Linked DNA regions of Homo sapiens: regions 1, 3 and 4 are each linked to region 2. Evidence: promoter capture Hi-C in 16 types of primary human blood cells and fetal thymus (Javierre and others, 2016). All regions are on one chromosome and are shown on one strand. The core of a region is centred on a gene start or on the middle of the fragment in contact, and the rest is flanking DNA. Distances in the headings are between cores, read along the strand shown. Region 1 has its middle 37 kb from the start of RPS4Y1. Region 2 holds the start of SRY (sex determining region Y). Region 3 has its middle 33 kb from the start of ZFY. Region 4 overlaps RPS4Y1 (ribosomal protein S4 Y-linked 1).

The links. The method cuts DNA at HindIII sites, captures the fragments that hold promoters and counts their contacts. A CHiCAGO score of 5 or more calls a contact.
Region 1: a fragment that was not itself captured here is called in contact with the fragment with the promoter of SRY in region 2 in 5 of 17 cell types (M1 macrophages, total CD8 T cells, neutrophils and 2 more); the score reaches 8.7 in M1 macrophages.
Region 3: a fragment that was not itself captured here is called in contact with the fragment with the promoter of SRY in region 2 in 7 of 17 cell types (total CD8 T cells, M1 macrophages, M2 macrophages and 4 more); the score reaches 8.0 in total CD8 T cells.
Region 4: a contact is called between a fragment that was not itself captured here and the fragment with the promoter of SRY in region 2, in 8 of 17 cell types (M1 macrophages, M0 macrophages, non-activated CD4 T cells and 5 more). The highest score is 10.0, in M1 macrophages.

What each region holds. Positions count from the first base shown.
Region 1 is chrY:2,874,850-2,881,498 of GRCh38, reverse strand. No RefSeq gene overlaps it. Among named protein-coding and RNA genes, the nearest start is that of RPS4Y1, 37 kb to the right of the region's middle. The HindIII fragment of the contact is 3,438 bases long and covers 1,996-5,433 here.
Region 2 is chrY:2,783,710-2,790,042 of GRCh38, reverse strand. SRY (sex determining region Y) reads left to right here and starts at 2,361. Exons shown (of 1, transcript NM_003140.3): 1 at 2,361-3,188. The coding sequence starts at 2,440. The coding sequence ends at 3,054. It also overlaps the pseudogene RNU6-1334P and the pseudogene RNASEH2CP1. RefSeq lists promoters at 2,030-2,343, 369-2,343, 1-2,439. The HindIII fragment of the contact is 2,145 bases long and covers 2,035-4,179 here.
Region 3 is chrY:2,899,032-2,905,384 of GRCh38, reverse strand. No RefSeq gene overlaps it. Among named protein-coding and RNA genes, the nearest start is that of ZFY, 33 kb to the left of the region's middle. The HindIII fragment of the contact is 1,417 bases long and covers 3,738-5,154 here.
Region 4 is chrY:2,856,405-2,862,383 of GRCh38, reverse strand. The region is part of intron 5 of RPS4Y1 (ribosomal protein S4 Y-linked 1); the gene reads right to left. Among named protein-coding and RNA genes, the nearest start is that of RPS4Y1, 18 kb to the right of the region's middle. The HindIII fragment of the contact is 1,320 bases long and covers 2,629-3,948 here.

The sequences.
Region 1 (6,649 bases), core at 2,465-4,964, 90 kb before region 2:
CAGTGGTGGGCTATTATACTATTTTTACAACATATGTGGACTTTTTGATCATTCGACAGGAAATTTGACATGCCCCTTTGTAAGTTTATTTAGTTCTCTAAAGAGGAAAAAATAATAGAGTGCTTTAATCCATTTGCTGCTGCAACAACAGAATACCATTGACTGGGTAATTTGTAAAAAAAAACTCATTTTGCTCATGTTTCTGGAGGCTGGGAAGTCCAAGGGGCTGCATCTGGTGAGGGTTCCTTTACAACATGGCAGGAGGGCATCATACAGTGAAGGACTTGTGATAAACAGAAAATCAGGGCCAAACTCATCCTTTGATCCAAAGCCCACTCACACAATAACTAACTTATTCTCAAGATAATGCCATCGATCCAGTCATGATAGGTTGCACCCTCACAGCTAATCATTTCTTAAAGGTCCCACCTCCCAACACTATTACAATGGCTACAGAATTTCAATGTTAGATTTGGAGGGGACATTCAAAACCATGGCAGTGAGCAAGGGCAAAAAAAGGAACTGAAGCTAGCAAAAGGTAATAAGCAACTTCTCGAAGTCTGGCCTAAATCAAATGAGGGCCTAAATTAGGATGGCACAAAGGAAGGAACAAATGCACACATACACATGCACACACAAATAAAAACTCCGGAGAAAGCTTAACACACTATTTACTTCAGTATTTTCTCAGTTACATTTCCCTAGTTATTTTAAACTTGGATTTTAGTTGGCAAAGATCATCTTTATTACAGTTCATACCTAGCCAGCTCAGTAAACATGATCATCATTATTTGCATCATCACTTGAGTAACAAAGTTCACGTGATATTATACTCATGGACTGCATCACTGGCAGGACATGGTGGAATTTCACAGCTGGCATCAGCAAGGGCCATTTCTGACCTTCCGTCAAAGCATTCCAGCAGGTTTTTGCCTTTAATAACCTCCTGCAAGAGTCCACCTTTCACATTTTCCAATGCACATTTTCTTCTCTTTTTATTTATTTATTTGTTTTTTGAGACAGAGTCTCAGTCTGTCATCAGACCACAGTGCACTGGAGTGATCTCAGCTCACTGCATCCTCCACCTCTGGGTTCAAGTGATTCTCATGCCTCAGCCTCCCAAGTAGCTAGGGTTACAGATGTGCAGCACCATGCTGGGCTAATTTTTGTATTTTTATTAGAGACGGGGTTTCGCCATGTTGGCCAGGCTCTCCTGGCCTTAGGTGATCCACTCACCTTTGCCTCCCAATGTGCTGGGATAACAGCCATAAGCCAGCATACCTAGCCTCTAATGCACACTTTTATCACATTGGCTTCATGCTCCATCCAAACTCAGATTTAATTTCTTAAGTTGGCATTTAATACCTTCTAGATTTTGAGCCCAGGTCCTCAGGATGGCTGAATAAATCACTTCAAGATCTGACATTTGTCTACCTTTCAGCTTCATGTCTGTTTCACTACTGTTTATCTGGAGCAAGATTCAAACAAACCACTTTCGGCCATGCCCTTTCCCATCTTGTACCTTTTGCCCCATTTCTTTCCTGGAGATAAAAGACCCCCTCTCCCTCTTTGCCTACTTAAGACTCCTCCAGCACAGACATCACTCCTTCCAAGAGATGTTTCTTATCTATCACATTAATTTTCTTGTCTATCTGTCTGGGACACCCAGCAGTGACCTAACACAGTGACTGATATATATATGTATGTTTATATATATATATTTATTTATATATATGTATATATATATATATATTTATTTATATATATATATGTGTGTGTGTGTGTATCAGTAAATATTGACTATATGCTTAATCCCATTAAAATCTACTTTCATTGTCAAAAACAAACATTCATGGTGTTCAGCCATTACTTTTTCTCTTTGCTCTTCACCACAACCTTTCTTCAAGGGGTAGGCCAAAGCAGTGTTGGCTAGAGTTGGAACAATTTTGACTTAATGAAACTAGTGTCGCTGGTTATCAATTCAGCTATCAAGCTTTCTTTTTAGCTTCCAGTTATCTGACCACTATGCAAATGTGCACACTTTCGGCAATACCACCATAAAGGCTTCTTTCCTTTTATCTCATTGAAATGTGTTGATTTTCCCCTGCCTCTTCTAAAATTTCTTTTCTATCTTCTGCTTTGACTGGCAGGTCCTTGCCTGAAAGAACTAGCTGCATACTTACCATGCCTTCCTTTATTTGCAGCAAAGATTCCCAGTTGTTGTGCTGAAATGGATTACACTGGGGATTCCAGCTATGCAACTTTTCAGAAGCAGCAGAGTGGATTTTGTATACTGTAAAACTGCTGGTGTCACAAGCTAAAGCCTGACAAGATTCATCACTCAGCTTTCTGGAAAAGCTGAAGTTGGGATGGTGTATGGATTTGTACAGCCAGATTTCTCAGGCTGGAAACCTACTGCTGCCATTTGACCATATGCATATATTTTCAAATTGCACCTAAGTAGGAAAAGTTTGGAATGAATAATCCATGATCTATACAGGGAATCCTGATTCCTTATGCTGGCATACCATGACACAAAACAATGGTCATTTCACCTATGTCCACATGCCATTAAAATATAATACCACTTTTTAGTTTCCTTTTCTTTTTTTTTCTTTTCTTTGAGATGGAGTCTCACTCTGTTGCCCAGGCTGGAGTATAGTGGCACAATCTCCACTCACTGAAACCTCTGCCTCCCAGGTTCAAGCGATTCTACTGCCTCAGCATCCCAAATAGCTGGGACTACACGTACAAGGAAAAAGCCTGGCTAATTTTTGTATTTTTAGAGATGGGGTTTCACCATATTGGCCAGGCTGTTCTTGAACTACTGACCTTAGGTGATCCACCCACCTCAGCCTCCCAAAATACTGGGATTACAGGGATGAGCCACCATGCCCGGCCCACTTTTTAGTTTTCAAACTGCATAGGGTACTGTAGTAAACATGATTAAATGTTGAAGATGATTTTTTTTTTTTACAAAAAAAAGTCTGATGCCTAAAAGGATGAAAAGTGAACAGACTAACTTGGGTAAATACCAGGGGAACAAAGAAAAAAGAAAATCAAATTTTAGAAGAAGCAGGAGAAAGTAATGAGAGGATGGAAAAGGATGGGTTAAATGTGGAATACAATATTGTAAGGTTAAGGCAAGTGTCACACAAACAGCAACGGCAACAACATAACAAATGCAGGGAGGGGGAGACGAGGGGGAAGGAGGAAAGAGTAAACAAATGCAAAAAATAGTGGTCAACATGATTAGAATATGTGTCCTCAACCTCTGCAAACTCTTTATGTTCTGAGCAGTTTACCTTAGAAACTATCTTAGCTTCCTCTAAGATTCAAAGACACTGTACCTCCTTTTTTTTTTTCTTTAGATGGAGTCTTGCTCTGTCGCCCAGGCTGGAGTGCAGTGGTGCTATCTCTGCTCACTGCAAGCTCCGCCTCCAGGGTTCACGCCATTCTCCTGTCTCAGCCTCCCGAGTAGCTGGGACTACAGGCGCCCGCCACGATGCCCAGCTAATTTCTTGTATTTTTAGTAGAGATGGGGTTTCACTGTGCTAACCAGGATGGTCTCGATCTCCTGACCTCATGATCTACCCGCCTCAGCCTCCCAAAGTGCTAGGATTACAGGCGTAAGCCACCAAGCCCGGCCTTTTTTTTTTTTTTCTTTTTCTTTTTTGAGATGGAGTCTTGCCCTATCATCCAGGCTGGAGTTCAGTGGTATGATCTTAGCTCACTGCAACCTCCACCTCCCAGGTTCAAGTGATTCTCATGCCTCAGCTTCCTGAGTAGCCAGGATTACAGGCCTGCACCACCATGGGGATTACAGCCCTGCACCACCATGGCCAGGTAATTGTGTGTGTGTATTTTTAGTAGAGATGGGGTTTCACCACGTTAACCAGGCTGGTCTCAAACTTCTGACCTTGAGTGATCCACCTCCTTGGCCTCCCAAAGTGCTGGGATTACAGCCGTGACCCACTGTGCCCAACTGACACTGTACCTTGTAAAGTAGTCTGTCCCTATTTAGGTTAAATTCGTTGAAAGTTGTAGGGACCAGCCCCACAGGGTTGGTGGGTTTTCTCCTCATGTGCAGAGACAAGACAGTGTAGAAATAAAGACACAAGACAAAGAGATAAATGACAGCAGGGGACCACTACCACCAAGATGCGGAGACTGGTAGTGGCCCCGAATGCCAGGCTACACTGATATTTATTGGATACAAGACAAAGGAGCAGGGTAAGGAGTATGAGCCATCTCCAATGATAGGTAAGGTCACGTGGGTCACATGTCCACTGGACAGGGGCCCTTTCCTTTCTGGCAGCCAAGGCAGAGATAGAGAGGAGAGAGAGACAGCTTACGCCATTATTTCTGCTTATCAGAGACTTTTAGTACTTTCACTAATTTGCTACTGCTATCTAAAAGGCAGAGCCAAGTGTACAGGATGGAACATGAAGGCGGACTAGGAGCATGACCACTGAAGCACAGCATCACAGGCAGAGGGTTAGGCCTCCGGATAACTGCGGGCGAACCTGGCTGATGTCAGGCCCTCCACAAGAGGTGGAAGAGCACAGTCTTCTCTAAATCCCCCAGGGAAAGGGAGACTCCCTTTCCCAGTCTGCTGAGTAGCAGGTGTTTTTCCTTGACACTGACGCTACTGCTAGACCAAGGTCTGCTTGGCAATGGGCATCTTCCCAGATGCTGGCATTACCACTAGACCCAGGAGACCTCTGGTGACCCTGTCCGGGCATAACAGAAGGTTTGCACTCTTGTCTTCTGGTCACTTCTCACTACATCTCCTCAGCTCCTATTTCTGTATGTCCTGGTTTTACCTAGGTTATGATTACAGAGCGAGGATTATTATAATATTGGAATAAAGAATAATTGCTACAAACTAATGATTAATGATATTCATATATAATCATATCTAAGATCTATATCTAGTATAACTATTCTTATTTTATATATTTTATTGTACTGGAACAGCTTGTGCCCTTGGTCTCTTGCCTCGGCACCTGGGTGGCTTGCCATCCACAGAAGTGTTTTAACAGCAAAAATTACTTTGAATTTTCTGCCCAAAAGGAACAGTACAAATGTTCTGCATCTTCAGTCATCACTTAAGTAATAAAATAGATGGAGCAAATGTACTTTTCCATCATACCATGAATACAATTAATATCCCTGGGTGTTATAACTAAAACAAGCATAAGACTTTGAAAATTGGAGCAAAGAGGTAAACTGCTGAGGGAACTTAAGACCCAGCAAATGATAAAAAGGATGAGTTCCCTGGATTTTGTTTTGGCTTCATGTTATCACATAGTTGGTCCTGAAGGAGCTGGTACCCAAAAATGTAAAGAGGCACAGACAAAAATGTTCTCACAAGCCCGCCTTCTCTAGCCACAGGGCTAGGAAAAAGACATCTTACTAAGACAAAAAGCTTTTATACAATAGCCACCCTACTTTAGCCAAACAACACACACAAAACAAGGCAAAACAAAAAACCTACCCAAGCCAACAAAGTCCAAGTGCAAACATCCATTCTATAGGCAGTAATGAAGCACCCCAACCCTCTGCTGGAGTGGAATCAGAGAAGACAGCATAGAGAACTAGAGTTTTCGTGGTAATAAGACATCCTTCCCTAGGAGGTGCAAGTAAGGCCTTGTGTGACACTGGAAACTGCATATTCGTTTATCAGTAATGAGGAGCCTTACCTTGGGTGTCAAAGGAAATGAGGAAGGGAATTTGGAATTGTGCATCTACTAGACAAGCACACCCTTTCCTCTATTAGGGTGGTATTAGATAAAATCAGCTAAAAATGAACATCATAATAAGGTCCAGAGTCTCCTAACAGTCCCCTAAATGTTCAAGTTTCAAATAAAAATCACTCATAAAAATCAAGCAATAGGAAAGCCTCCACCTCAAAGAAACAACATGATAAATGTCAATACAGAAATGTCAGTGTTATCAGGAATATCTGAGAAAGATTCCTAAACTGCCATCATAAAAATAATTAAATGAAGAATTATGAACATGCTTAAAACTAATGAACAAGTATAAAGTGTAAAAATTACAGGTTTCAGCAAAGAAAAGGAAATTTTAAAACTAAAAACTCTACTATAACAAAAATTATGTAACACAGTCTGAGATCATCATAAATGTATGTAGAGAAAATATATAAGGCAAGTATAAAACGGGAAATGATAAAGGGACTAATAGGAGGTAAGGTAAATTGATGTCAGTAGACTGTGACAAATTATGTTTACACAATGTAATACCTAGAAAGACAACCAAAAAAGGCATATCTTTATATCTCTTCAGGTATACTAAAAAAGATAACAAATACATCAAAATGAATGTCTCAAATCTCTTCAAATAACCCACACAAAGGACAAAAAATAAAACTCGGGAGAAAAAACAAAACCAGCAGACAGAAAATGAACAGCTATTGTGGCATGACAGTTCTCGCTGACAGTCATACACACAGGCCTGTGCAACACCCTAGTTACAGACAAATTTCCATAGCACTGCCTTAACGTTGAGCAGAGTTAAACCTACAGAAATCAGTGCCCAGACATCAAAGCTAGAAATGAAGCATATGGTCATTAGGAGCCTGGCATGGGCTTCTCCCTAACCTGGAGCCAGCCAAGATAATAGA
Region 2 (6,333 bases), core at 1,112-3,611:
GGACGGCACTGCCACCTCGTCGCCCCGTAGACTGCGGCCCCGAAACTACACTTAAGAGTCCCTCGGGGCCCTGGCGGATGGCAGGCGTGATGAAGCGCCACACCGTGGTGGGCCGCAGGGTATCAGGTGTAGTGTGGCGGGGGCGGCGTCCTGCAGTGTGGCTGGGCGCAACTGGACGCTGTACCTCTCCATAGCCGCCTAGTCGCCGCTCTCCATCCTCGCTCCTGTGCGACGCCACTTTATCCCTCTTAAACTGGACGATTCAGTAGTACCGGGGAACGAAGGCAACAAGACCTAACCATAGCAACAACATTTTGTTTTTGAAACCCATCTTGCAACTGCCTGACTGCAAAATGTACTTGCAGATTCTGCAGACAAAAATTGCTGCCACTTATTAAAAGACTTCATAGTGAAAACTGACTTTTTACCCAAACCACTGATTCAAGGACTTTTGCGTAGAAACTCATGAACTGTTAAGATAACCCTTCATTACCAATTAAGATAATAGGTTGTAAGTAACCTAATGAGTACCAACTTTCTCTTATTTCCTTTAAAAACTGTCTCTCAAAACAGCCGGTCACGACACAATGTCAGATGCTTCTGGAATCTGTTTCTCTAATTACAGTTCTAAAACTGCCAACAAACTCCTTATTTGGACTTCAGTTTCTCTGACTCTTTGGTTCACCATGTTGTGCAGCCATCACCTCTCTCTAGTTCCAGAGCATATTTTATCAATCCTCAAAAGAAACCGTGCATCCACCAGCAGTAACTCCCCACAACCTCTTTCATCCAGTCCTTAGCAACCATTAATCTGGTTTTAGTCTCTATTCATTTGCCTTTCCTGGATATTTCATATACATGGGATCATTCAGTATCTGGCCTCTTGTATCTGACTTTTTCACACAGTGTAACATTTTCAAGGTTCACCTATGTGGTGCCTTGTGTCATTTTTTGCTATTTTCATGTCAGGTTTTGAAATGGTATGTTTTTTCTCATCTTGTAAGGGATTTCCTGTTGTAGAAAATCTGTTTCTGTGTATGACTGCAATTTAACCATTTTATTTGCTATCCAGATACATGTTTTAACTTGAGCCAACTATATTTCCACTTTGTATAATGAATACTAAATTTTGTATCTTAGATACTAAACTTTAGTAGATAACTAGGATACAAATTACAGTTTTCATATTTTTCTTTTCATGGAATATAATTTTTTAAAGTTTCTGATATTAATTCATTATAACATTTACTGGACAAACCAACCACATTTGGTTCTATGAACTCTTTTCATATTTTACGGGATTTTTATTTTGTTGTCTTAGGAATTGTGGCATCATTCAGTTTTGCTGAGAGTTTATTTTTATTAATAGGTTCTGTGTACTATGCAACCTGTAGTTGTTACTCCTGTTTTGCAAATATGGCATTAAAACATTGGTGAGTGGGGGGACTTTCCTCCCATTTTATTTCAGCAAAGAAATCTTGTCATTTCTCTTCAGACTTTAAGATTTATTGAGGAGAGTTATTCACTTGTTTAGTCTGGTAAACTGTGACCTTTAAATTTTGAAGGAGGTTGAACTAAAAGGTGAAATATGATAAATTGATGGCTCTATTTGTTGTGAATGGAAATTTAATTTAGACTTGTAAAAGATTGTTTTTTAAATTGCTAATTGTGTGACAGTGAAGAGAATGACTTCAAAATATCCCACTATACAATCTGCAAAGAAAAGAATTGTGTCCCCTTTTTAGTGTAGCTTAACACTTCACTGAAACTGTTTTGAGTTCTTAGGTCATATTTTTTTTTCTCTAAACGAAACAATTACTTTTCTAAAAGTCAAATGTTAGCCATCCTAGAAGTTGGGCATAAAATACTTGTAAGTATATGCTAATATTCTGATACTTAATGCCTGTGAAAAATGTGTATAGAATTTTCAATTTTTAAATAGAAGTGAAGAAAAAGCGATAATAATTACTATAAATTCAATATGCAGTTATGTATGTATGTGTGTGGTTAAGACAATTAGGTTCTCATTAAGCTTTGTTTTTTTAAAGATAACATACACATATATTGATAATGATAAACAATTCATATAGCTTTTTGTGTCCTCTCGTTTTGTGACATAAAAGGTCAATGAAAAAATTGGCGATTAAGTCAAATTCGCATTTTTCAGGACAGCAGTAGAGCAGTCAGGGAGGCAGATCAGCAGGGCAAGTAGTCAACGTTACTGAATTACCATGTTTTGCTTGAGAATGAATACATTGTCAGGGTACTAGGGGGTAGGCTGGTTGGGCGGGGTTGAGGGGGTGTTGAGGGCGGAGAAATGCAAGTTTCATTACAAAAGTTAACGTAACAAAGAATCTGGTAGAAGTGAGTTTTGGATAGTAAAATAAGTTTCGAACTCTGGCACCTTTCAATTTTGTCGCACTCTCCTTGTTTTTGACAATGCAATCATATGCTTCTGCTATGTTAAGCGTATTCAACAGCGATGATTACAGTCCAGCTGTGCAAGAGAATATTCCCGCTCTCCGGAGAAGCTCTTCCTTCCTTTGCACTGAAAGCTGTAACTCTAAGTATCAGTGTGAAACGGGAGAAAACAGTAAAGGCAACGTCCAGGATAGAGTGAAGCGACCCATGAACGCATTCATCGTGTGGTCTCGCGATCAGAGGCGCAAGATGGCTCTAGAGAATCCCAGAATGCGAAACTCAGAGATCAGCAAGCAGCTGGGATACCAGTGGAAAATGCTTACTGAAGCCGAAAAATGGCCATTCTTCCAGGAGGCACAGAAATTACAGGCCATGCACAGAGAGAAATACCCGAATTATAAGTATCGACCTCGTCGGAAGGCGAAGATGCTGCCGAAGAATTGCAGTTTGCTTCCCGCAGATCCCGCTTCGGTACTCTGCAGCGAAGTGCAACTGGACAACAGGTTGTACAGGGATGACTGTACGAAAGCCACACACTCAAGAATGGAGCACCAGCTAGGCCACTTACCGCCCATCAACGCAGCCAGCTCACCGCAGCAACGGGACCGCTACAGCCACTGGACAAAGCTGTAGGACAATCGGGTAACATTGGCTACAAAGACCTACCTAGATGCTCCTTTTTACGATAACTTACAGCCCTCACTTTCTTATGTTTAGTTTCAATATTGTTTTCTTTTCTCTGGCTAATAAAGGCCTTATTCATTTCAGTTTTACTGGTATTTCATTTTAAACTTAATTTCAAGACAAGTTGTGTCAACACGATTAACATGCAAAGAAATAAGACATCCAGAAGTGAGCCTGCCTATGTTTGTGGCCGTCAGAGTACTAACTTGATACAAACGGACACTGTGGCTTACTTTAAATGCTCTAATGAGAAACACACTTGAAAATTGTACCAAAAAAAATCACACTTCTATATGCAGCGTGTTAAGCAGTCCTCTCTAGACCGTGTATTCATTGGTCTTTCAGCTACTTTGTACGTGTCTATAAATTGCAGGTAACTAAGGAATGGATATGTAAGCAGGATCAAACTTGTTTCTTTCTCTCCCCTTCACGCTGTGGAAAAAACCAGTTTTACCTCCACTTGCAATTCAGTTCCTTTACTCCATATAAATCCAAACGGTTGACATTTCCTTTCAACTAGTTATAAAATGCCTCTGGTAAAACAAAATATTTAATTCCTTGTCATTTTTGTATCTCTATGAAACTTATCATTTTGCCTTTCTTCTGAAAACTATCTTTTAAAATGGCAATCTACTTGTTTCCATGGCCTATTAACTTTTAAGCCTGTGGAATGAAAAATACAGAATTTTCATTCTCAACAGGAATGTTGAGAACGCCGACTACCCAGATTATGGAGATGGAAGGGCGGGGGCTGGTGACCCAACTGGTTTAATTTGATGGGATTTAAATAAAAATGTAATGCCAAGACTTCATAAAATTTGCACATAAGCTAAAGCAGGAAACTAGAAGTTTACAAATAACTGTAAACCACAGTTTAAAGTATAAATTACAAATAAATTTTTCTACAATAAAAATAAATCAAAAGTCAAAATTAATGGTATGTATCAAAGTCAGCTTTCCAATATTTCAAAACTTTTCAGAGACATTACCTTAAATAATAAAACTCAAACACTAAAAGAGTGTATATTAGAGATGGATGTCATGTTTCTCAAAGTTCAGGGTTTAAAAAAAGCTTTATTCCAGAGACAATATTACTTAATCTGAGCTTTATGCCAAATGAGAACTGTATATTGCCCATTACCTTTTAAACACTGACTCAAAACTACTTTGTAATATTTAAAACCACTCTTTTCACTCTCCCAAAAATAACACCCATTCTGACCTTCATTACCATACATTAATTTTCCTTTTCTTGAACCTCTGACACAGATTCTCTGTTTGACCAAACTTTAGTCAGGTTTCTGAACCTTCTCCTAGACTCGCCTGTGCACTTCCTTGCCAAACTCAGTTTTGGCAAAGAACTCTCCTAAGCCAGGTTAGCCAGACTGTACCCCCACCGCATATCTGATCACACTCAACACTTGATCGATCACCCTCAATATCTGATCAGGTTTCTCATCCTCCACCACCCTCTAGGTGATGTCTGATCAGCCTAGCCTGTCTTCAGCAAGAATCCTCCTTATCTATGATGTCTTCTCTTAGTGATTGTCCATCCATTGACCCTACTCCCTGCTCCTTGGCTATAAATCCCCACCTACCCAGCTGTGTATGTGGAGCTAAGGCCAATCTCTCCCCCAGTGCAAGACCTCATTGCTGTGCTGTTGGTCGTGAATAGTCTTCCTTATCAAGTTTGAACAAGTATCACTGAATACCATTTTTCCTTAACAATGTGAATAAATATAAATACAAAATATTATGTGGAGCTTCTTTTGCTTAATACATTTTGGTGGTTTTCAGATTATTAAAAATTATGACATCATGCATGTATACATTTTGGAAAGACTAAATCAAGCTAATGTATCTACTACCTCATATACTTCCCTTTCCTTTTGCACTGGGAACATTTAAATTGTATTCTCTTAGCAATTTTCAAGCATACAATACATTCTTATTACCTATATTCAACATGCTTTACAATAGATCTGAACTAATTGCTTCTATCTAGATGAAATATTATAATTTTTGAATAACAATACTCATCTCTTCACCTGACCCTACTAGAGGGTAGCCACAATTCTACTCCCAAAAATATGAAAGACTTCACATTTGAATACCCTCCTGGCCCAGGGACAGTGTTATTCTTCTCCATACCATTCTAATTTTAGTGTATATGCTGCCCAAACTAGAATTTTTAAGAAAAAATTGTTGTGCGTATTTCATTCTATTTTTGTTGGACAAATGAATGGACACTTACTGGTTTCAATTATTACAAACAGTGCTTTTTTATACATTCTTATACATGTACAATGGAGAACATTTATAAGAATTTCTGTGAAGCACACTCCCAGGAGAGGAATTGATACTTTATGTATGGTTTACTTAGGAATTACTGAAATGAAGCATTTTTGTATTTTTGTGATGTTTAAACAAACATCAATAAACAAACAAATTCTAACTATAAGTATCAAGTGTGCTTTGGCTGCCAATGGATGTTTGCTATATTTTAAAATGCCAACACTTAAAATACATTAAGAGGGAGCTTGGTACTGAATAAAGAACACAGGCTCTGGAAGGTAAACCCTTCAGCTTTGGCTCACTTGAGTGCCACTTACAGGCTTGAGCTTGAACAATTTACTTCGCTGTCTGAGTCTCAGTTTTTTCAATTCTGTAATAATTTTGTTAGTTGAAATGCTATTTACTAATAAAACCAACCCATGAAGAGATGTGAAGGCTACATGAATTAAGGTACACAAGCATTAAATAAGTGAGTGTATATAAGAAATACTTAGAACAGGCTGGGAGCAGTGGCTCACGCCTGTAATCCCAGCACTTTGGGAGGCCAAGGTGGGTGGATCACGAGGTCAGGAGATTGAGATCATCCTAGCTAACATGGTGAAACCCCGTCTCTACTAAAAATACAAAAAATTAGCCAGGCTTGGTGGCGGGCGCCTGTAGTCCCAGCTACTTGGGAGGCTGAGGCAGGAGAGGGCTTGAATCCAGTAGATGGAGCTTGCAGTGAGCCAAGATGGCGCCACTGCACTCCAGCCTGGGCGACAGAGCAAGACTCCATCTCAACAAAAAAAAAAAAAAAAAAAGAAAAGAAAAGAAAAAAAGAAATACTTAGAACAGACATCAGCATTAGTGAAGAATTAACTAAATATTTGCTATTATTAACCTGAAAGTAATTGCTCCATCTAAAAAATATCTTAGTGAAGAGTAATGTAGATA
Region 3 (6,353 bases), core at 3,197-5,696, 110 kb before region 2:
GGTGGATCTCAGTAGTGGGATTGCTGGATCAAATGGTAGTTCTCCTTTTAGTTCTTTAATGAATGTCCACACTGTTTTCCATAGCTGCTGTACTAGTTTACATTCCCACCAGCACGGTAGAAGTGTTCCCTGATTACTGCATCCACGACAAGTACAGTTTTTTTCATTTTTGATTATAGCCATTCTTGCAGGAGTAAGGTGGTATTGCATTGTGGTTTTGATTTGCATTTCCCTGATCATTAGTGATGGTGAGAATTTTTTCATATGTTTTTTGGCCATTTGTATATCTTCTTTTGAGAATTGTCTATCCATGTCCTTAACCCACTTTTTGATGGGATTGTTTTTTTCTTACTAATTTGTTTAAGTTTGTGGTAGATTCTGGATATTAGTATTTTGTCAGATGTATAGATTGTGATGATTTTCTCCCACTCTGTCAGTTATTTGTTTACTTTTCTGACTATTCCTTTTGCTGTGCAAAAGCTCTTTAGTTTAATTAGGTCTTAGCTATTTATCTGTGTTTTTATTGCATCTCCTTTTGGGTTCTTGGCCATGAAATCCTTGCCTAAGCCAATGTCTAGAAGGTTTTTCCAATGTTATCTTGTAGAAATTTTATAGTTTTAGGTCTTAGAATTAAGTTCTTAATCCATCTTCAGTTGATTTTTGTATAAGGTGAGAGATGAGGATCCAGTTTCATTCTCCTACATGTGGCTAGCCAATTATCCCAGAACCATTTGTTGAAAAGAGTGTCCATTCCCCACTTTGTGTTTTGTTTGCTTTGTTGAAAATCAGTTGGCTGTAAGTATTTGAGTTTATTTCTGAGTTCTCTATTCTATTCATCTATGTGCCTATTTTTATACTAATGTCACACTGTTTTGGTGACTATGACCCTTTTTTTTTTTTTTTTTTTTTTTTTGAGATGGAGTCTCACTCTGTTGCCCAGGCTGGAGTGCAGTGGTGTGATCTCAGCTCACTGCCAGCTCCGCCTCCTGGGTTCATGCCATTCTCCTGCCTCAGCCTCCCGGGTAGCTGGGACTACAGGCGCCCGCCACAATGCTTGGCTAATTTATTGTATTTTTAGTAGAGATGGGGTTTCACCATGTTAGTCAGGATGATCTCAATCTCCTGACCTCATGATCCACCCGCCTTGGCCTCCCAAAGTGCTGGGATTACAGGCGTGAGCTACCACGCCGGGCAACTATGACCTTATAGTATAGTTTGAAATCAGGTAGTGTGATGCCTCTAGATTTTTTGTTTTTGCTTAGTGTTGCTTTGGCTATGCAGGTTCTTTTTCAATTCCATAAGAGTTTTAGAATTGTTTTTTCTAACTCTGTGAAGAATGGTGGTCATATTTTGATGGGGATTTTGTTGAATTTGTAGATTGCTTTTGGCAGTGTGGTCATTTTCACAATATTAATTCTATCCATCCATAAGCATGGGATATATTTCCATTTATTTATGTTGTCTATGATTTCTTTTAGCAGTGTTTTGTAGTTTTCCTTGGTTTTTTTGAATCCTTGGTTAGGTATATCTTAAGTATCTTAATTTTTTTGCAGCTATTGTAAAAGGAGTTGAGTTCTTGATTTCATTCTCTGCTTCTTCGCTGTTGGTGTATAGAAGAGCTACTGATTTGTGTACATTAATCTTGTATCCAGAAACTTTGCAGAATTATTTTATCAGTTGTAGGAGCTTTCTGGAGGAGTCCTTAAGGTTTTCAAGGTAAATGATCATATCATCAGCAAACAGGGACAATTTGACTTCCTCTTTACCAATTTGGATCCCCTTTCTTTCTTTCTCTTGTCTGATTGCTCTGGCTAGGACTTCCAGTACTATGTTGAAGAGAAGTGGTGAGAGTGGGCATCCTTGTCTTGGGTTCCTGTTCTCAGAGGGAATACTTTCAACTTTTCCCCATTAGGTATTATATTGGTTGTGGGTTTGTCATAGGTAGCTTTTATTACATTAAGCTATGTCCCTTGTTTGTCAATGTTGCAGAGGGTTTTAATCATAGAGGGATGCCAGATTTTGTCAAATCTTTTTTCTGCACCCATTGAGATGATCATGTGATTTTTGTTTTTAATTCTGTTTATGTGGTGTATTTTTGCAGGATTCAGGAGAATGAAAGAGACCTTGGGTTAAAACAGCAGGATCTTTATTGAGTGCACTCAGGTCCAGCTGACTCACATCCCAAGACTGGGCCCAGCACAAAGACAGCATCTGACTTTTATATACACTTCACAAAAGGGGGCGGGCTAGCTTGAAGGAAGCTTACAGTGGCATAAAAGCAGGGGTTCAGAGGCAGGACAAAGACAGGACTGCACATGACCATTGCCAAGCAACCCAGATGTCCATTATCTAGGTTTGTCTGGGCATGGGCTTATCCTATAACCTTCACTGTGGTGCCCAGGCAGCTGTAGTTCAGGCCTACTCAGGCTTCTCATGACCTCCGTTGTACTTTTTAGATAAACAGAATACTTGAAGTCACTAGTTACAGAGAACAAGGATCTATAAACTCATTCCATAAAACAAAGGAAAATTTGTTTTTCTTCTCCCTATGTTGAGGGAGTGCTGGAGAGTCTCCAGAGCACATTAGGTAATATTATCAAGACTTTTCCTGGGTCTGGGCTGTGCCTGTTGCTGCCTCTGGGACAAATCAGCCTAATGCAGGAAAACTTATTTCCCTTTCTTTTTAATTTTATTTTTCTTTAATATCTTGCCTTAGTATCACACTTACTCACTTGTGTATGTTAAACCATCTCTGCATCCCTGGTATGAAACCCACTTGATCATGGTGGATTATTTTTTGCTATGTTGTTGGTTTCAGTTAGCTAGTATTTTGTTAAGGATTTTGGCATCTATGTTCATCAAGGATATCAGTCTGTAGTTTTCTTTTTTGGTTGTATCCTTTTCTGATTTTGGTATTAGGATGATGCTGGCTTCAATTAATGAATTGGGGAGGGTTTCTTCTTTCTCTATCTTGTGGAATAGTGTCAAAAGGAATTGTACTGATTCTTCTTTGAATGTCTGGTAGAATTCTGCTATGAATTTGTCTGGTCTTGGACTTTTTTTGGTTGGTAATTTTTAAATTACTGTTTCAACCTTGCTGGTTGTTGGTCTGTTCAGGGTATCAAATTTAAGGGTCCTGATTTAAGCTAGGAGGGTTATATTTTTCCAGGAATTTATGCATCTCTTTTAGGTTTTCTAGTTTATATGTGTAAGGGTGTTCATAATAGCCTTGAATGATCTTTTTTATTTCAGTGGTGTCAGTTGTAATATCTCCTGTTTTGTTTCACAGTGAGGTTATTTGGATTTTGTCTATTCTTTTCTTGATTAATCTTGTTTATGGTCTATCAATTTTACTTATCTTTTCCAAGATCCTGCTTTTTGTTTTATTTATCTTTTGTATCTTTTTTTTCTTTGTTTCAATTTATTTCTGCTCTTATCTTGGTTATTTCCTTTCTTCTGCTGGGTTTTGGTTTGGTTTGTTCTTGTTTCTCTAGTTCCTTGGGATGTGACCTTAGAATGTCAATTTGTGCTCTTTCAGACTTTTTGATGTCAGCATTTAGAGCTATCAACTTTCCTCTTAACACCACCTTAGCTATATCTCAGAGGTTTTGATAGATTTTGTCATTACTGTCATTCAGTTCGAAGAATTTTTTAATTTCCACCTTCATTTTTTTTGACCCAATGTTCATTCAGGAACAGGTTATTTAGTGTCCATGTATTTGCATTGTTTTGAAGCTTCCTTTTGGAGCTGATTTCCAGTTTTATTCCACCATAGTTTGAAAGAGTGCTTGATATAATTTCAATTTTCTTAAATTTATTAAGGCTCTTTTTATGGTCTATCATATGGTCTAATCTTGGAGAAAGTTCCATGTGCTTTTGAATAGAATGTGTATTCAGTAGCTGTTGGATGAAATATATTAAGTCCATTTATTCCAAGGCATAGTTAAATCCATTGTTTCTTTGTTGATTTTCTGTCTTGATGACCTGTCTGGTGCTGTCAGTGGAGTATTGAAGTTCCCCACTACTATTGTGTTGCTGTCTATCTCATTTCTTAGATCTATTAGTAATTGTTTTATAAATTTGAGAGCTCCAGTGTTCAGTGCATATATGTTTAGGATTGTGACATTTTCTTGTTGGACAAGGCTTTTTACCATTACATAATGTCTCTCTTTGTTTCTTTTTTTTTTTCTTTGAGACGGAGTCTCGCACTGTTGCCCGGGCTAGAGTGCAGTGGCGTGATCTCGGCTCACTGCAGCCTCTGCCTCCCGAGTTCAAGAGATTCTCCTGCCTCAGCCTCTAGTAGCTGGAATTACAGGCACCCACCACCACGCCCAGCTGATTTTTTTTTTTGTATTTTTAGTAGAGATGGGGTTTCACTATGTTGGCCAGGCCGGTCTCAAACTCCTGACCTCGTGATCAGCCTGCCTCCGCCTCCCGAAGTGCTGGGAGTACAGGCATGAGCCAGCATGCCCGGCCCTTCTTTGTCTCTTTTAACCACTGTTGCTTTGAAGTTTGTTTTGTCTAATATAAGAATAGCTACCCCTGGTCACTTTTGTTGTCCATTTGCATGAAATTACTTTTTCCACCCCTGTAAGTTTATGTGAGTCCTTATGTGTTAGATGATCTTCCTGAAGGCAGCAGATGATTGGTGAGCTCATATCCATTCTGCAGTTCTGTATCTTTTAAGTGGTGCATTTAGGCCATTTACATTCAATGTTATTATTGAAATGGCTTGGTAATGGCTAATTATCTCCACATTTGTTTGTCTGAAAAAGATTGTACCTTTCCTTCATATATGTTGCTTAGTTTCACTGGATACAAAGTTCTTGGCTGATAATTGTTTTGTTTGAAGAGGCTGAAGATTGGAGGCAGAAACCCTATAAGCCCTTCTAACTTGTAGGGTTTCTGTGGAGAATTCTGCTGTTAATCTGACAGTTTTTCCCTTGTAGGTTAGCTGGTGCTTCTGTCTCACAGCTTTTAAGATTCTTTCATTCATTTTAACTTTGGATAACCTGATGCAATGTGCTTAGGTGAAGACTTTTTTGTGATGAATTTTCCAAGTATTCCTTGTGCTTCTTTTATTTGCATGTGTAGGTCTCTAGCAAGGCTGGGGAAGTTTTCCTCGATTATTCCCTGAAATGTGTTTTCCAAGCTTTTAGAATTGTCTTCTTCCTCAAGAACACTGATTGTTCTTAGGCTGTTTAACATAATCCCAGACTTCTTGGAGGCTTTGCTCATATTTTCTTCTCCTTTTTTCTTTGTCTTTGTTGGATTGGGTTAATTTGAAGTCCTTGTCTTCAAGCTCTGAATTTCTTTCTTCTACTTGTTGCTTGGGGACCCAGTGAGCTCCCATGGACTTTCTGCTGCTTCCTCTATCCCTGTATTTTGCTTGGCTTGGCTCTCTAACTTGATTTAGCTCTAGGTAAAGTCAGAAACTGCTCTCCCACAAACAGACTTTCAGCTTCTCCAGTGGGGGCGTGTGTTCAGGAGAGGAGGGTCTCTCTTTCCCACTTCCACTGTTAGGACACTCACAGTATTTGGGGTGTCTCCTGGGTCCTACAGGGGCAGTCTTCTTCCTTCAGAGGGTCTGTGGTTCCTCTCGGGATTGCTGGTTTGTTCCTGCAGTCAATCTGGAGCTAAAATTTACAATGCAAGCCCCCGCATGCTGCTCTATCCGGATCTGCAATCTAGTCCTGCCTCCTGTCCACCACGATCCTGAAATCCACAAGTTCAGGATTTCAAGACCACCCAGGGCAACATGGAAAAACCCCTCTCTACAAAAAATACAGAAATGAGTATGGTGGCACATGCCTATAATCCCAACTACATGCCCAAGAGGTCAAGGATGCAGAGAGCTGAGATGGTGACATTGCACTCCAGCCTGGGTGACAAAGTGAGACTAATTTCAAAAACAAAAACCAAAAAACAAAGCTGCTTTTTTTGTTTTTAATTGAAATGCAGTCTCAGTATGTTGGCTGTGGCAGTCTAAAACTCCCAGCCTCAGGCAGCCCTCCTACCTCAGCCTCTCAAACTGCTGGTATTATAGGCTTGAGCCACCACCCCTGGCCTTCTTATTTAAACTATAGTAACAGTTTTGGTTTGGGCCCTTCGGCTCACTTCTACATGTCACCAGTAAGAGCCCAAAGGTTGGGTGTACCTGTACCAGAATGAACTACCAATGACAAATAAAGAAAATATCTTCCAAAGCACTATTTTCACCATTTGCATCTTTTCAAACAAGAAAATATATTAAAGAAAAAATGATTTGCATGTACTTCGAAATCATCACCTCTCAACTCACTCCATTCTCATATGAGAATTCATAGAATGAGTAGATGTACCTTGTGGCAAGC
Region 4 (5,979 bases), core at 2,039-4,538, 71 kb before region 2:
TGCACCATGGAAAGACAAAAGGATGAAAAATGGAGAAGACTGGACAAGTAGGTCTACTGTGAAAAGCTCTAATACAACTTAAATCCAAGTCCCAAAAACTGAAGTGAGAGGAAGGTTATGGACAAAGCAGTATGTGAAAACAAAATTTTCTACTGCAGTGGATCACAGCTAGGCATGGTGGCACACACCTATAATCCCAGCTACTTGGGAGGCTGAAGCAAGAGAATGCTTAAACCTCAGAGACAGGGGTTGCCGTGAGCCGAAATCATGCCACTGCACTCCAGCCTGGGTGACAAAGCAAGACTCTTGTCTTGGAAAAAAAAAAAAAAAAATGCCAGGCACGGTGGCTCATGCCAGTAATCCTTGCATTTTTGGAGGCCAAGGCAGGCAGATCACCTGAGGTCAGGAATTCAACACTAGCCTGGCTAACATGATGAGACAACCCTGTCTCTACGAAAAATTACAAAAATTGCCAGGCACTGTGGCTTATGCCTGTAATCCCATCACTTTGGGAGGCTGAGGTGGGAGGATCACCTGAGGTTGGGAGTTCAAGACCAGCCTGACCAACATGGAGAAATCCCGTCTCTACTAAAAGTACAAAATTAGCCGGGCATGGTGGCACATGCCTGTAACCCCAGCTACTCGGAGGATGAGGCAGGAAAATCGCTTCAATCCAAAAGGCAGAGGTTGCAGTGAGCAGAGATGTCACCACTGCAGTCCAGCCTAGGCAACAAGAATGAAACTCCAGCTCAAAAAAAAAAAAAAAAAAAAAAAAAGACATACAGGGATGGGGGTGGAGCAGGGTATATGAGACAGTTGTTACAACAGCAGAGAGGCCATAGTACCACAGACAGGCATCAGGCAAAGCAAGAGGTTAGGGGCTTCAGAGAAGCACAGCCAAGAAAGTACACATGCAAGCCCTGAGATGAGATTCCCAAAACCTCTAGCCTGGCTGACTGGTGAAGGTCATACTCCCTGTATGAAGATACATAGGGAAGACTGGAAGAGATGGCTGTTTTTCTTTAGAAAAATAAGCCTAAAGAAACGATGATGTATGAGTTACCAGACAAAAAATTCAAGCTAACCATCTTAAAGATGCATATCAAACTAAGGAAACAGCTACAAACAAAATCAGAAAAACAACCCATAAACAACATGAGAATTATCAACAATGTAAAGGAAACCCACAAAAAAGGATCAAACTCTGGAACTGAATACAATTGAACAGAATTTAAAAATCACAGGTCCAGAAAGAATCTGCAAACTTGAAGACAGGCCACTGAAATTAACAAGTCAGAGGCGCAAAAAGGAAAAAAGAAAAATAAAGGTGAGCCTAAGAGAGGGAGTAGCAGACACCATCAAGAGGAACAATATACAAACTACAAGAGTCCTAGAAGGAGAAAAGACAGAAACAGAGAAAATGAGAACAGGATTTGGGGGAAAGACAGGGAGGGGCAAAAAGCCTACTAGAAGAGAATAATGGCCCAAACTCCCCAGTTGTGTGAAAGAAGATGGACATACAAATTCAAGAAGCTGAACTCCAACTAGGATAAGCCCAAAGCATCAAGAGACAATATAATCAAACTCTCAAGAGTCACAAAGAAAGAATCTTGGAAGCAGCAAGTAAAAAGTGACTCATCATTTACAAGGGAGCTCTTGCTAGATAAGCTATAACTCTGCAATCCAGAAGACAGTGGGATGACATATTCAAAGTGCTTAAACCAAGTGACAACGAAGAGTCTAACTATAAAAGAGCCAAATATGAGCGACCATGGCCCATGACACAACCCTCAAGAGGAGGCCCTGAGAACATGTAACCAAGGTGGTCAGGGCACAGCTTGGTTTTATACATTTTAGAGAGGCATGAGGCATCAATCAAATACATTTAAGAAATACACTGGTTTGGTCAAGAAAGGGCAGGGTTGGGGGGTTATCAGGTCCAGTCTATTGGTGAATTTAAACATTTTCTGGTTGACGGTTGAGTTTGCCTGGGATTGGTAAGAAGGGAAAGGGAATGCTCAGGTTAAGATAAAAGATGATGGAGACTGAAGTTCTTCTGAAGTCTTAGGGAAGTGGTTGCCCTTAGAGACAATAAATGACCAATGTTTCTTATTCAGATTTTAGTTTATCTCTTTAGGATTGGGAGGGTCTGGAAGAAAAAGATTTATCTATTTTAATAGAGATTCTTTACAGATGCAGATTTCTCCTCCACTCCCACGAAGAGCAGCTTTGCAAGTCCATTTCAAAATATGGCAAACATGTTTTGGGGTAAAATATTTTTATTTTCTTCATTGTCTCGTAATGTTATCCCAGAGTCAGACTGGAAAGTAAGTCATGAAATATAGGGTTAAATAAAACCCATCTGATGATGAGTCATGCTCATTTGTAGGGCGTAACTCTCCAGATCCCTTAGATAGGGATTTGGGTAAGATAATCATCAGGGTTTAGTCCTCACAAGAATACCATAACTTTCAAAATGAAAGAAAAAATAAGACCTTCCAAGGTAAGCAAAAGCCACTAGGCTGGCCTTACGAGAAATGCTGAAGAAAAGCACTTCAGGATGAAACAAAAGGATGTCAGACACAAAACCATATGAAAAAAAGAAAGAAAGAAAGAAAATATAAAGCTTTCTGATAAAGGTAAATATACAGACAAATAGAGAATCCTAGATCACAAAGGTGTATAAATCACTTTTAAGTCTGGTATAGAACTTAAAACACAAAAGCACATCAATAACCATAAACCAATGGTAAAAGGATACACAATAGAAAAACATTCATGTGTGCCATCAATAACAAAATTTGTCTGAGGGGATATGGAGATGCAACTGAAGGTAACAGTTGAAAACAGACTGTTTTCACTTTAAGATAATTTATGTAATCCCCTTGGTAACCACAAAGAAAATAACCATGGAAGACACACAAAATCAGAAAGGATTCAAAGTGTTCTTTTATTTTTTGTCACTATAAAAAGTAAAGAGCAGCAGAGCACAAAAAGGCAGGTAATAAGGGAGAAAAAATAGGTATAAAATAGCTACAGAACATACTGAAAATAATTAACAACAGAGCTATACTAACTAATGCCTTCCTTAACAGCAACTATTTTGACTGTAAAACAGATTAACTCCTCACCCCAATCTAAGGACACAGACTAGCTAAATGAATAAAACCAGCCAACCAACCAGTCAAGTTACAACTATATGCTGTTAACAAAAGACCGGTTTCAGATTTAACGACACACACAGGCTGAAAGTGAAGTGCTGAAGTTGATGTTCCAGGCAAATAGTAAGCAAAAGAGAGCAGGGGTGACCAAACTTGGGTCAGACAAAATAGACTATAAGTCAAAAATTGTCACACAAGACAAGGCAGCTCAAAAATGCTTATGTTACAACAGAAGAAAGACCTCAAATGAATAGCCTAACTACATTACAAGGAACTAGAAAAACAGAATAAACCCAAGGTTGGCAGAAGGAAGAAAATTAAATAAGACCAGAGCAGACATAAAAGAAAAAAACAGTAAGAAAAAAGAAAAAAAACTAAGGGTTGATATTTTAAAACAGATTAACAAAAACTGACAAAACCGAAGTTGAGCATGGTTGACTCACTTGGATAACACACTTCCTAATTTGAAAACAAAATACAAAATGACAGTAATTCAACAGTGTGATACTGGCATAAAAGACAGGCAAACAGACCAAAGGAAGAAAATAGAGCCCAGAAATAAACCCAAGCATATATGGCCAAATGATCTTCAACAAGGGTGCCCAGACCTCTCAATGGAGAAAAGACAGTCACTTCAACAAGTGGTGCTGGTAAATCTACGTCCCCATGTAAAGAAACAACATGAGAATACCTTACATTACACCATATACAAAAACCAGCTCTAAACAGATTAAACGTAAGGCCTTGAACTGTAAAGCTCCAAAGACAAACACAGAGACCACAAGCTTCATGACATAAGAGATATAATTTCCTGGACATGACACCAAAAGCAAAACCTGACAAATTTAAAAATGCCTGCCAACCAAAAGAAACAATCAGTAAGGGTGAAAAGGCAACCTATGGAATGGGAAAAAACATCCACAAATCTTACATCTGATACTATCTAAAGATGTCCTACAACTCCACAATACCAGAAACAACCTAGCTAAATACTGGACAAAGGACATGAATAAAACCTTTCTCCAAAGACATACAAACACTCAAAAAGATGTTCAACATCTCTACTCATCACAGAACTCCAAATTTAAAAAAATAATAATGAGATATGACCTCATACCTACCAGGATAGCCACGAGAAAAAAAAAAAGAAAATATATAAAAAGCAAACAACAGCAAAGTGTGGGAAGGAATGTGAAGAAACTGAAATTCTTCTACACTGTTGGTAAGAATGTAAAATGGCAAGGCTGCTATAAAAAAACCGCACAATGGTTTCTCAAAAATTTCAAAACTATCTCATCCAGCAATGCCACTTCTAAGTGTGTATACAAAAACATCCAGCAGGATCTGGAAGAGTTGTCTGCACCGCTGTGTCCCCAGCAGCATTACTCACAGTAGCCAAGAGGTGGAGACAACCCAAATGTCCATCCACAGAGGAATGGATAAACAAAATGTGGTATACACACCCAACTGAGTATTACTCTGCCTTAGAAAGAGGAAGGAAATACTGGCCAAGTGCGGTGGCTCACGCCTGTAATCCCAGCACTTTGGGAGGCCAAAGAGGGTGGATCACCTGAGGTCAAGGGTTTTGACTCCAGCCTGGCCAACATGGCGAAACCCCATCTCTACTAAAAATACAAAAATCAGCTGAGTGTGGTGATGGGTGCCAGAAATCTTAGCTACTCAGGAGGCTGAGGTAGGAGAATCACTCGAAACCAGGAGATGGAGGTTGCAGTGAGCGGAGATAAAGTCACTGCACTCCAGCCTGGGCGACAAGAGTGAAACTCTTTCAAAAAAAGAGGAAAGAAATACTTTCACATGCCACAACATGGATGAACCCTGAGGACATGACGCCAAGCAAAGTTAACTAGTCGAAAAGGACAAACACTATCAATTCCACTTATTAAGACACCACCCAAAAGAGTCAAATTCACAGAAGCAGAGTGGTATGGTGGTTGTCAGAGGTTGTAGAAAGGAGAAAGTGGCAAAGTTGGTTAAAGCACATAGTTTCAGTTTAACAAGATGAAAGAGTTCTGGAGATCTGCCACATAAGAATGTGAATATAGTTAACAACACTAACGAACTGTACACTTAAAAATGGTTAAGGTGGTAAATCTCTGACGTATCTTTTTTTTTTTGAAACCACAATTAAAAATTATTTAAGCATTTAAAACCAAACAAACCAAGAACTACAAAAAAACCTTTGCCCTCACTCAGTGGGTTTCTTGTTACTAGGAATATTGGCTTTGTCATTCTGAGATTATTTTATGTACACTCCCAGGACTAAACTAAGTAAACTAGTAAGTAATAAACAAATAAGCAAAAAAATTAATACCAAGCATGTTTGTGTAAGACAAAGGGATATATATTTCAAATAAAGTTAGGGCCAGGGCGGTCGCTCACACCTGTAATCCCAGCACTGTGGGAGGCCGATGCAGGTGGATCACCTGAGGTCAGAAGTTTGAAACCAGCCTGACCAACATGGTGAAACCCTGTCTCTACTTGGGAGGCTGAGGCAGTAGAATCACTTGAACCCAGGAAGCGGAGGTTGCAGTGAGCCGAGACTGTACCACTGCACACCAGCCTGGTCAACAGAGCAAGACTGTCTGAAAGCAAAATGAAACAAAACTCCCCCAAAAACAAAACAAAACAAAAACAAACAAGTTAGGTGGGGGAGAAAAAAAAATCTGTTGAATTTTAACTGGGAATTTGATTTAATAAACAAATGAGATACAACATATCATTTCATTGGAGATAAGAAGTCCACATCCATTTTAAAAATTATTCTCGGCTGGGCACGGTGGCTCACGCCTGTAATTCC